2 separate regions of the Homo sapiens genome follow, and region 1 is linked to region 2. Evidence: promoter capture Hi-C in 16 types of primary human blood cells and fetal thymus (Javierre and others, 2016). All regions are on one chromosome and are shown on one strand. Each heading gives the region's core, a stretch centred on a gene start or on the middle of the fragment in contact. The rest is flanking DNA. Distances are from core to core; before and after follow the strand shown. Region 1 overlaps MYCBP2 (MYC binding protein 2). Region 2 holds the start of MYCBP2-AS2 (MYCBP2 antisense RNA 2).

What was found. The method cuts DNA at HindIII sites, captures the fragments that hold promoters and counts their contacts. A CHiCAGO score of 5 or more calls a contact.
Region 1: a fragment that was not itself captured here is called in contact with the fragment with the promoter of MYCBP2-AS2 in region 2 in 2 of 17 cell types (total B cells and naive B cells); the score reaches 5.2 in total B cells.

What each region holds. Positions count from the first base shown.
Region 1 is chr13:77,121,238-77,125,654 of GRCh38, forward strand. MYCBP2 (MYC binding protein 2) reads right to left here. Exons shown (of 83, transcript NM_015057.5): 54 at 4,099-4,231; 55 at 136-258. Among named protein-coding and RNA genes, the nearest start is that of MYCBP2-AS2, 42 kb to the left of the region's middle. The HindIII fragment of the contact is 1,885 bases long and covers 2,175-4,059 here.
Region 2 is chr13:77,078,976-77,083,038 of GRCh38, forward strand. It overlaps MYCBP2-AS2 (MYCBP2 antisense RNA 2), which reads right to left and starts at 2,215. Exons shown (of 2, transcript NR_170173.1): 1 at 1,939-2,215; 2 at 1,536-1,686. MYCBP2 (MYC binding protein 2) reads right to left here. Exons shown (of 83, transcript NM_015057.5): 63 at 4,057-4,063; 64 at 2,862-3,018; 65 at 2,452-2,676. MYCBP2-AS1 (MYCBP2 antisense RNA 1) reads left to right here. Exons shown (of 4, transcript NR_046716.1): 3 at 4,035-4,063. The HindIII fragment of the contact is 5,615 bases long and covers 1-2,363 here.

The DNA of each region.
Region 1 (4,417 bases), core at 1,867-4,366, 43 kb after region 2:
TTTTATTAGCTTTCCATGAACAAATTTTAATTTAATAAAGATTTCTGGGTGAACACAAATAAAAAGTGTATAAAAGAGAAGGTAATAAAAAATATTGAAGTTAGGTAAGTAAAAGACTTACTTTTAAATACCTACCTTTGCTATTTCCGAGTCCATAATCAAATCCTTGGGCACTGCAACTTGCCCCTTTATTAAAAGCTTGCACTGAGAAAGGGCTTGGAGGAGGAGTTTGAGAATTCTGATCCAGAAGAGCTTGTTCTACAATAAAAGCCATAGCTGTAACATTAGTTTCTTACGTGCTATTCCCTATTCATACAACAAAGAGAGAAAATTGCAAAAGATTTTATGATGGTTAGATTTTAAAATAAGCTCACATCTAGATTTGATCAATTTAAATACCAGTCAGGTCATCTTAACATTAACAAAGCACCTGACAAATCTTTGTTTTTATTTATCAAATACACAGTGAAATTTAGAAATGAGATAGGCTCTTATGAAGCCAATTTACTTTTATTGTGGCAGGATACATTACTGAATGCATACTAATATTTCTGGACCAGGAACTCTTTGTATTTGCAACAAATTTATACAAGAGTATTTTGCAAAACAAAATGGATAACCTATAAACCAGAAATAAAAGTATTTTGCATATTAGTATTAGAATAGAGAAAAAAACTAAGTATCTAGTACCAAAAGGAATTTTCATTTGTTAACTGTTCTAAGTTATGAATGTGAAAATTATGGAAAACTTAACTTTTAACTTATTTTATCACATAAAGATATTTTTCCCAAATAGAAGGATAATAATAAACCATGTTACATAATCAGAGTCTATAAATGTATCAGAATTCTTATTTCAAGCAGAAAATGGCAAATGTTTTATCCATTTACAAATGGCAAGATGTGACCTATAAAATATGCAAACTAAATTAATCCCCTATGAACAATCAACTGGCTCCAAGACTCTGTCTGATATAAAACAATACCTTAGTTAAATATCCATATTAATGCCAGCCAAAAAAGGCAAAATAAAGTCTGTCAAGTAAAATTGGGGGGAAAAGGTATTTATTCCATTAAAATAACCTTATGAAAAATAAAATATCTCAAGTATATTTTTAAATATCTTATTTTTAAAATATCTTTAAGTATCTTAAATATCTTTTTTAAAAGTCAATAGTCCTTGGCCGGTCGCGGTGGCTTACGCTTGTAATCCCAGCACTTTGGGAGGCCAAGGCAGGCGGATCACGAGGTCAGGAGATCGAGACCACGGTGAAACCCCTTCTGTACTAAAAATACAAAAAATTAGCCGGGCGTGGTGGCCGGCGCCTGTAGTCCCAGCTACTCAGAGAGGCTGAGGCAGGAGAATGGCATGAACCTGGGAGGCGGAGCTTGCAGTGAGCCGAGATCGCGCCACTGCACCCCAGCCTGGGTGACAGAGCGAGACTCCATCTCAAAAAAAAAAAAAAAAAAAAGTCAATAGTCCTTTAAACAGAACAGGGAACTACAGACAGGGTGTGGTAGAGTGTTTCCTTCCTACCTGTAAATTGCAATTCTGCTAAACCAGTGGTACTGTATAATCTATCCCTTTACCAGCATTTGTAGACTTGATTTAAAAAACCAATCTTAGCACTTCCCTTAGGCAATACTCTTCAGCATGCAATATTTCAGCAGTAGAATGTTTCTTCAGAAAAACACCCATGAACAGTAAACTGAACGGAAAAGATAGCACTGCTTCCTCTCTAGACTAAGAATGGTCTAGCACCCAGAGTGAAGTCTGTTTTTACCACAGCAGTAACTTTGCCTACTACAGATTTCAAAGACCAATAGAGAATTTTTACAAAGAGGAAAGCTTTTGTTTTACTCACATGACTTCATATAAATTACCATAGTGCCAAATCTTTGTACTTCCATATTAAATATTATCACCAATGAACAGACTATTTGGGCAGCACATCAACTAATCTTAGTGATTTAAAGGCACTAACTTCATATCATTTCTTTCCTTATCACTCCAGGTTTTATATTAAAATAGTAAGATTCACATGATCACCAAATATCCATATTTATGTCTGTATCTATACATCAAGAGTAAAAGATGATTAACTAATTACAGAGAAAAATTTAAACTTTTCTTAAATGATACTCTAATTTAAGAGGCATTTTATCTTGAAAGAAGCTTCTATCTTCTAAGTTTATAAGAATAAAATTTCCCAGGTTAAAACTTGATCCTTAGCATGGAAGGCATTTTGCATTTTAACAATAAGACCTAACTTACCATCCATTAGCTTTATCTGTTATTTGCTCATTTAGTCTTCATATCAAATTTATGTGGTTATGACCTATAAGGTCATTTTATAAATGGGAAAACTGAGGCACAGAGATATTAGGTTAACTTGGTCAAGGTCACATGAGTAAAAAGTTGCACAGCTGGGATCAGTACCCTGGCAGTCCTGCTTCAGAATCCACTCTTACATATTTTTTGTACTGCCAGTTAAAAAATTATTAAGGATTAAGCTAGAAAAGTCCTTTAGAAGTCACCTAAGCTGTTCTCATATTTAACTTATCTTAAATAAAGCTGATCTCCCCTTAGGTATTTTCATTTATATCTGAATATTCCTATATAAAGAAAAATGTTTAAAAATTTATGAATATGAAGTAAATATACAGCAATATATAATAAGCACATAGTAAGTGAAAAAGTCATTTAGTAAATGTCTGATTTACATCAAGCGGAACCCTTATCTTTTTCAAATGAACAGTTCTACTGTTTCAGGACATTATTTTATGACCATATCATCTTAGACTAAAAAAAGTCTATCTGGGAAAAACAAGGAGAGGAGGTAGGTTCTCAAGTTGTGCTCAATGTGTACAGCATGGTGTAATGAGTACAGCATTTAAAACACGAATGAAGATTCTGGCTGAAGTCTTACATCTGCTATGTCACCAGCTGTACAACCATAGACACGTTAGTTTAAATTCTAGAGCTTGAGTTTCCTACCTATAAATTTAAGATTATATCACCTACCTCAAAGGTGTGTTGTGGGGGGAAAAAGGGAGATATCTCCAAAGATACTCCATCATTATTGCAAATTTCAAACCTTTTCTGAATCCATATTTATGGCCAAATTGCCTCTTGGAATAATAAGTATTATAAATTTATTATCTTTTGAATAAAGATGCATGTTCTCTTATTTACCTAACTTCATCCTATAAATTTTGGGATTTGGCAGACAAGTCCATGTTTGCTTACATACTTATTTTGATGTGCTATTATTTTTATAATTCAAGTTGTATTACAAAACTTCATGAGCAACTAGTATGTGTCAAAACTGTTTCAGTACTAGGAATGGAAAGATAAAAACCATGTGCCTGTCCACAAGGGACTCATAACTGGGTATGAAGAAATAAACATGAACTTCACTATGACACTATTGTTCTAGTGGTGAGCACAATTCTTTAGGAACACAAGAAATTCTTTGCTCTGTTGTGATCAGTTAAAGCATCACACAAGTGATAATGTGGTCTCAACTTCGAAGAACAAATTTTTGCCACCAAGATATCAAAGAGAGGGGGACAAAAAGGAATATATTTTATTAAGTGATAGCCATGTTGAAAAAGGTAAAATAAAATTTAAAGTTGAAAATCTAACAACAGGAAACCCTAAAGACACTATGCATTTATTCAATGCTCTTTCCCTAAGACAAAATGCAATCAAATGAAGTTGCCTGGGAGAAGTACTGAGATTGGTAGTTGGAATACCGAAGTTTCATTTTATTATAGAAGGGATAGAACGTTCAGTCCTGGACTGGTACAGAAGAAAGAGGTATATAAATTTATATTAATGAAATTAAAAGCCTGTTTTATAAAGATGAGTCTATATGTTTCGAATTTTCTTTTAATTTTCTTCTTTAATGTGCATTAAGTACTCACGTATTTTACAAACCAATTTTAACAGTTGCAAGATTTTTTAACTTTTAGTTTTGCTTGTTAAAAAGCAAACACACAAAAAACTCTTTAAAACAAAAGCAATACAATAGGCATTAAACTTCTGTATTTGAAAGCTTAATTGGAATAAATCACAAATTTAAGCCAACTTGCCATCTTCATGTCGGAGGTACTGGTTTCCGCCTCTGTCTCTAGCTAAGGACCATGCCTCTCCTTCATCACTCTCACAGAACTCTACCATGCTGTTCTGATCCAGTTGCACCCATGTCCCTTCAGAATTGGTTACCTGGTACATAACAAAAAGCATGATTGATTGGCTTGATTCTTTCAGGGAACTCAGTCTGAAAACCAGTAAAAATCTTACGTGTCTGAATAGTGTAATCATTCCAATACATTTCTACTAAGAAATTAGTTTCTGAAATTAAGGCCACAGCCTGAGGTAAGACAGAAGTCAATAAAAAGTTCTGTAAAA
Region 2 (4,063 bases), core at 965-3,464:
CAACTCTTCTGCCTGTCTCTTATGGTCCTTCCTGATTGACCCCACCCCATCCCTCCAACTAACCACGGTTCCTATAACTTTAGTCTCATTCTCACAAACTCCATCTTAAATTGCACATTTCAGCCTCTCTCCAGGTGCTCTCTCACAGCTTGACATTCCCTCTCCTTATTCAAAGTCTAAATATTCAGATTCCTTCCTCATGAAGCCTTTCAACAAATCTGCTTGTCACTTATGTCAGACTCTTGTTGCTATATTTTCATTACTTTTGGAAGTATAAAGAGGGAAGGTAACTGAACTAACAAATACTTATGAGTGTCACAATGTACCCAGACTTCCTTACAGATTTGAAGTAGGATATATGAGAGGAGGTTCTATCCCCCAAGATACTTGCCAAACTAGGGAAGGCAACATTAATACACAAAATAAATGTCAAACAGTACAAGTTCAATACATGTTCAAACTAGTGTCAAATATCTTAAGGCTGAATAAGTTTTACGCAAAGCACATCAAGAAATAGATTAACATTAATTCCTTGGAGAGCTGCATAATATGAGTGCTGTAGGCTGATACAACTCAAATCAACAAATGCTGTGTACAAGGCTCTGTGGTAGGCAGGTTGAGGAACATGGAGGTACATAACTCAAGGAAAACATACATACAGGTTGAGTATCCTTTATTAGAAATATTTGGGACTAGAAGTGTTTTGGATTAGGGATTTTTTAGGATTTTGAAATACTCTATTTGCATTATCCTTACTGGCTGGGCACCCCAAATCTGAATATCTAAAACCAGAAATGCTCCAATATGCATTTCCTTTAAGTGTCATATCTGTGTTCAAAAAGTTTCAGATTCTGTAGCATTTTGGATTTTCAGATTTGGAATGCTCAACCTATAACATAGAGGAAGCCTGTTAAAAGGAAAGTAGATGTCAGCTTACATGTTGGGAATTTTGAAAATGAATACTGTTATGATTATTTCCTCTTAGAAAAGACAGAAGTGTTAAATTGATTGCAATCATTGTTCTGAGGGAGAGTATGTCCTTGCTTAAAATGTACCATGAGCCAAAGATAGCTTTGCACTGAACAGTGAGTTCTAGCTACAAAAATGTTTTGCTTTGTTACACTTGACTTTCCAGTAAGATAAAGTAGTTACACCAGTGGAAATTCTTAGGTCTGAGGAGGAAATAGCTCATATTATATTAGCTAAGCCTCTTTTACTTACTCAATACCAGGGAGGAATAGAACCTGCACTGATGTACAGGAGTTGGAGGTTGCTCTGATTGCAGACTGGCCTGCATCCAGGTTATCTGAGACCCAATCCTACCACTGTGGCTCTTCCTGAGAAAGGAAATATGCAAATGGCACAGGAGAAGCCAGGCAATGGTTCAAGGAGAGCCATTAATACTGTATCTGCTAGCAAGCCACATCCATTCTGAGGAAAAAAATTCTAAATGAGGTAGAAGAAAGGCAGTCTGGCAGTTAGTGCTATTTCTTTCTTGGTTGTTAATACTCAAGCAAATAGGACTCTTTTTTCTTGTTTAGTGCCTTTTATAAAAGAATATTTAATTCAGTTGAAACACATGGATGAACTAGGCTGAAGAGAATATAAATTATGATTATTTGGGACAGTCTGAAACTTATTTTTTATTTCATGAGGACTGTGGCAAAGTAGACACTTGAAGATAGGCTGGGTGCAGTGGCTCATGTCTGTAATCCTAGCACTTTGGGAGGCTGAGGTGGGCAGATCACTTGAGGCCAGGGGTTTGAGACCGGCCTGGACAACATGGTGAAACCCTGTCTCTACTAAAAATACAAAAATTAGCCAAGCATGGTGGCGTGTGCTTGTAATCCCAGCTACTCAGGAGGTTGAAGCAGGAGAATCGTTTGAACCTGGAGGCGAAGGTTGCAGTGAGCCAAGATTGTGCCACTGCACTCCAGCCTGGGTGACAGAGGGAGACTCCATCTCAGAAAAAAAAAAAAAAGCTGATTACACTATAGGTCAAAGATTATTATTAAGTGCCACCAGAGTAATACAAAAAGAATCAGCAGAGGGAAAGAGTAATTTTTTAGAGGAGTTACTTAGAATTTCTCTGCTGAGTTTGAGAGACCCTGGAAGAATTGATCAGCAGAGTTTAAGGGGAGGACTTCCAGGTCACGGGAAAATCTTAACCAAGGGAATGGCAGCAGAAAATTGTAGAGCAGACTTTCATTTTGCTTAGCTGTAGCCATGGTATATTTGTAATCAGACCTCTTTTCAGAAATGGAATTCCACAGTGCTCCCAATCATATTAATTTGTTTTTAGACTTAAGATTTATTTGGGGATTATAGCAATGATGTTTGGTTGGTGAAATTCCAGGTGATAAAGCTTGTTGCTAAATTCAGAAATGAAAGTGCATGAATACTAAGATCTGAAAAGAGCTAAAGAGCCGTAAATCACGTTTGCTTTCTTACCCCAAGATCTCGGGAATTGTCCACGTGAACAGACACATAGCGGGCATTGATTCCTTTTACACAGTTGATGGTGATGTTCTTAGTTTTGTTTTTATCTTCATCTCCTGATTCCCAAAAGGTTTCTGTGGAGCCGTCTGTCAAACTGCCAATCATGGCAGGTCGGCTTGAAGTTTTTATGTCAACAATGCTGGTTAAGTCCTTTAAGCACATTACTATGCATAATTCCTATCAGAAACAAATATAAGTACTTATGATACTTAAAAGCAAATCTTTCGTGATGATAAAACAAACAGGTATAAGATAAAACATAATGGAAGACAGGATCAAATTGATTATGAATAACTTACAGTTTCTCCTTTGATGTATTATTAACTAACAGGACAACCAGGATAATAACTGAAATGACTGACCTGACTCATAGCTTCAAAGCCAGACTGTATACTGATGCTAAAACTCTCTTCACTATCGCCATCATCTGACTTTGACAAAATATTGTTAATGTGATGAAAGACGTTGCTCTGATGAAGGAACTGGTGATCAGATTGCTTGAATTTGAGACTCCAGCACCTAAAAAGGCGATATATAAGCAATATACGAAATAATTATTTTCCAGGAACATCTAAGGAACTCTTAGATGAGTACTCTGTAGCTAATATCTCAAGAAATTTTAATGTTCTAGTAACAGACATTTTAAAAATTCAGGGAAGAAAATCATTCCTATTGTTTTTGTTTTTGAGAAATAAAGGTAACTTCTTTGGAACAAGGTAAATTCTAAGGAAAGTTGACCCATTTTAAATATAAAAGAATTAGACAGATGAAGATCAAGGCTACAGAAGCAAAAAGGGTAATGAATCTATTGTGTAAACAAGTGGTACACCAACTGCAACAACCCCTCAAATTTATTACTCTTACAATGCCATACTAATTCATCAGGGTATAGTTTATCTTGTAGTTCAAAAATCTTGTGAGGAGGACAAAGAGAAATCTCTCTTCCACTGGTCTTATCATTAGTAACATGGGAAGCCCAAGCATTCCATCAATCTATTTCTTGTATACATTAATTAGGAGAATTTATTTATAAGTGTGAGTCCAGTATGTGAATCTAGTAACAAGGTTCACAGTGTAAAAGCAATGCTAAATTCTCAACACATTTCAAATTGAAATTGGAATCTGTTGAGCATCTGTGATGCTCCTTAAGGTGCTTTTAGGACTGGGTGCATACAACCAGGCTCTGTTTTCCCCAAGATTCTTTTCAAGTCAAAACTCTATTTTGGTTTTTGTTTTTGAGATTTCATTTTCCCTCTCTCTTTTTGGGACATTTAAGTGATTTGAGGTAGGAGACTGGGGAAAGTGAGGGAGATTGCTACAGTGATAATTTAGGGCACTAAGAATTACATTAGCCACATTTTACAGGAGGGCAAACAAATGTTAACTAAGAGGAAGGACCATTCTAAAAATTATGACTGTAAGGAGGGAGGCACCATCTATATAATGTAGGGATTCTATCTTACTATTTAAAGAGCTTTTTTTGGAGCATTTCATACTTTGAATATTCCATAAACTCTCTTGTCCAATGTACCTAGGATATGTGGATACCAAAATTACCTCAGGG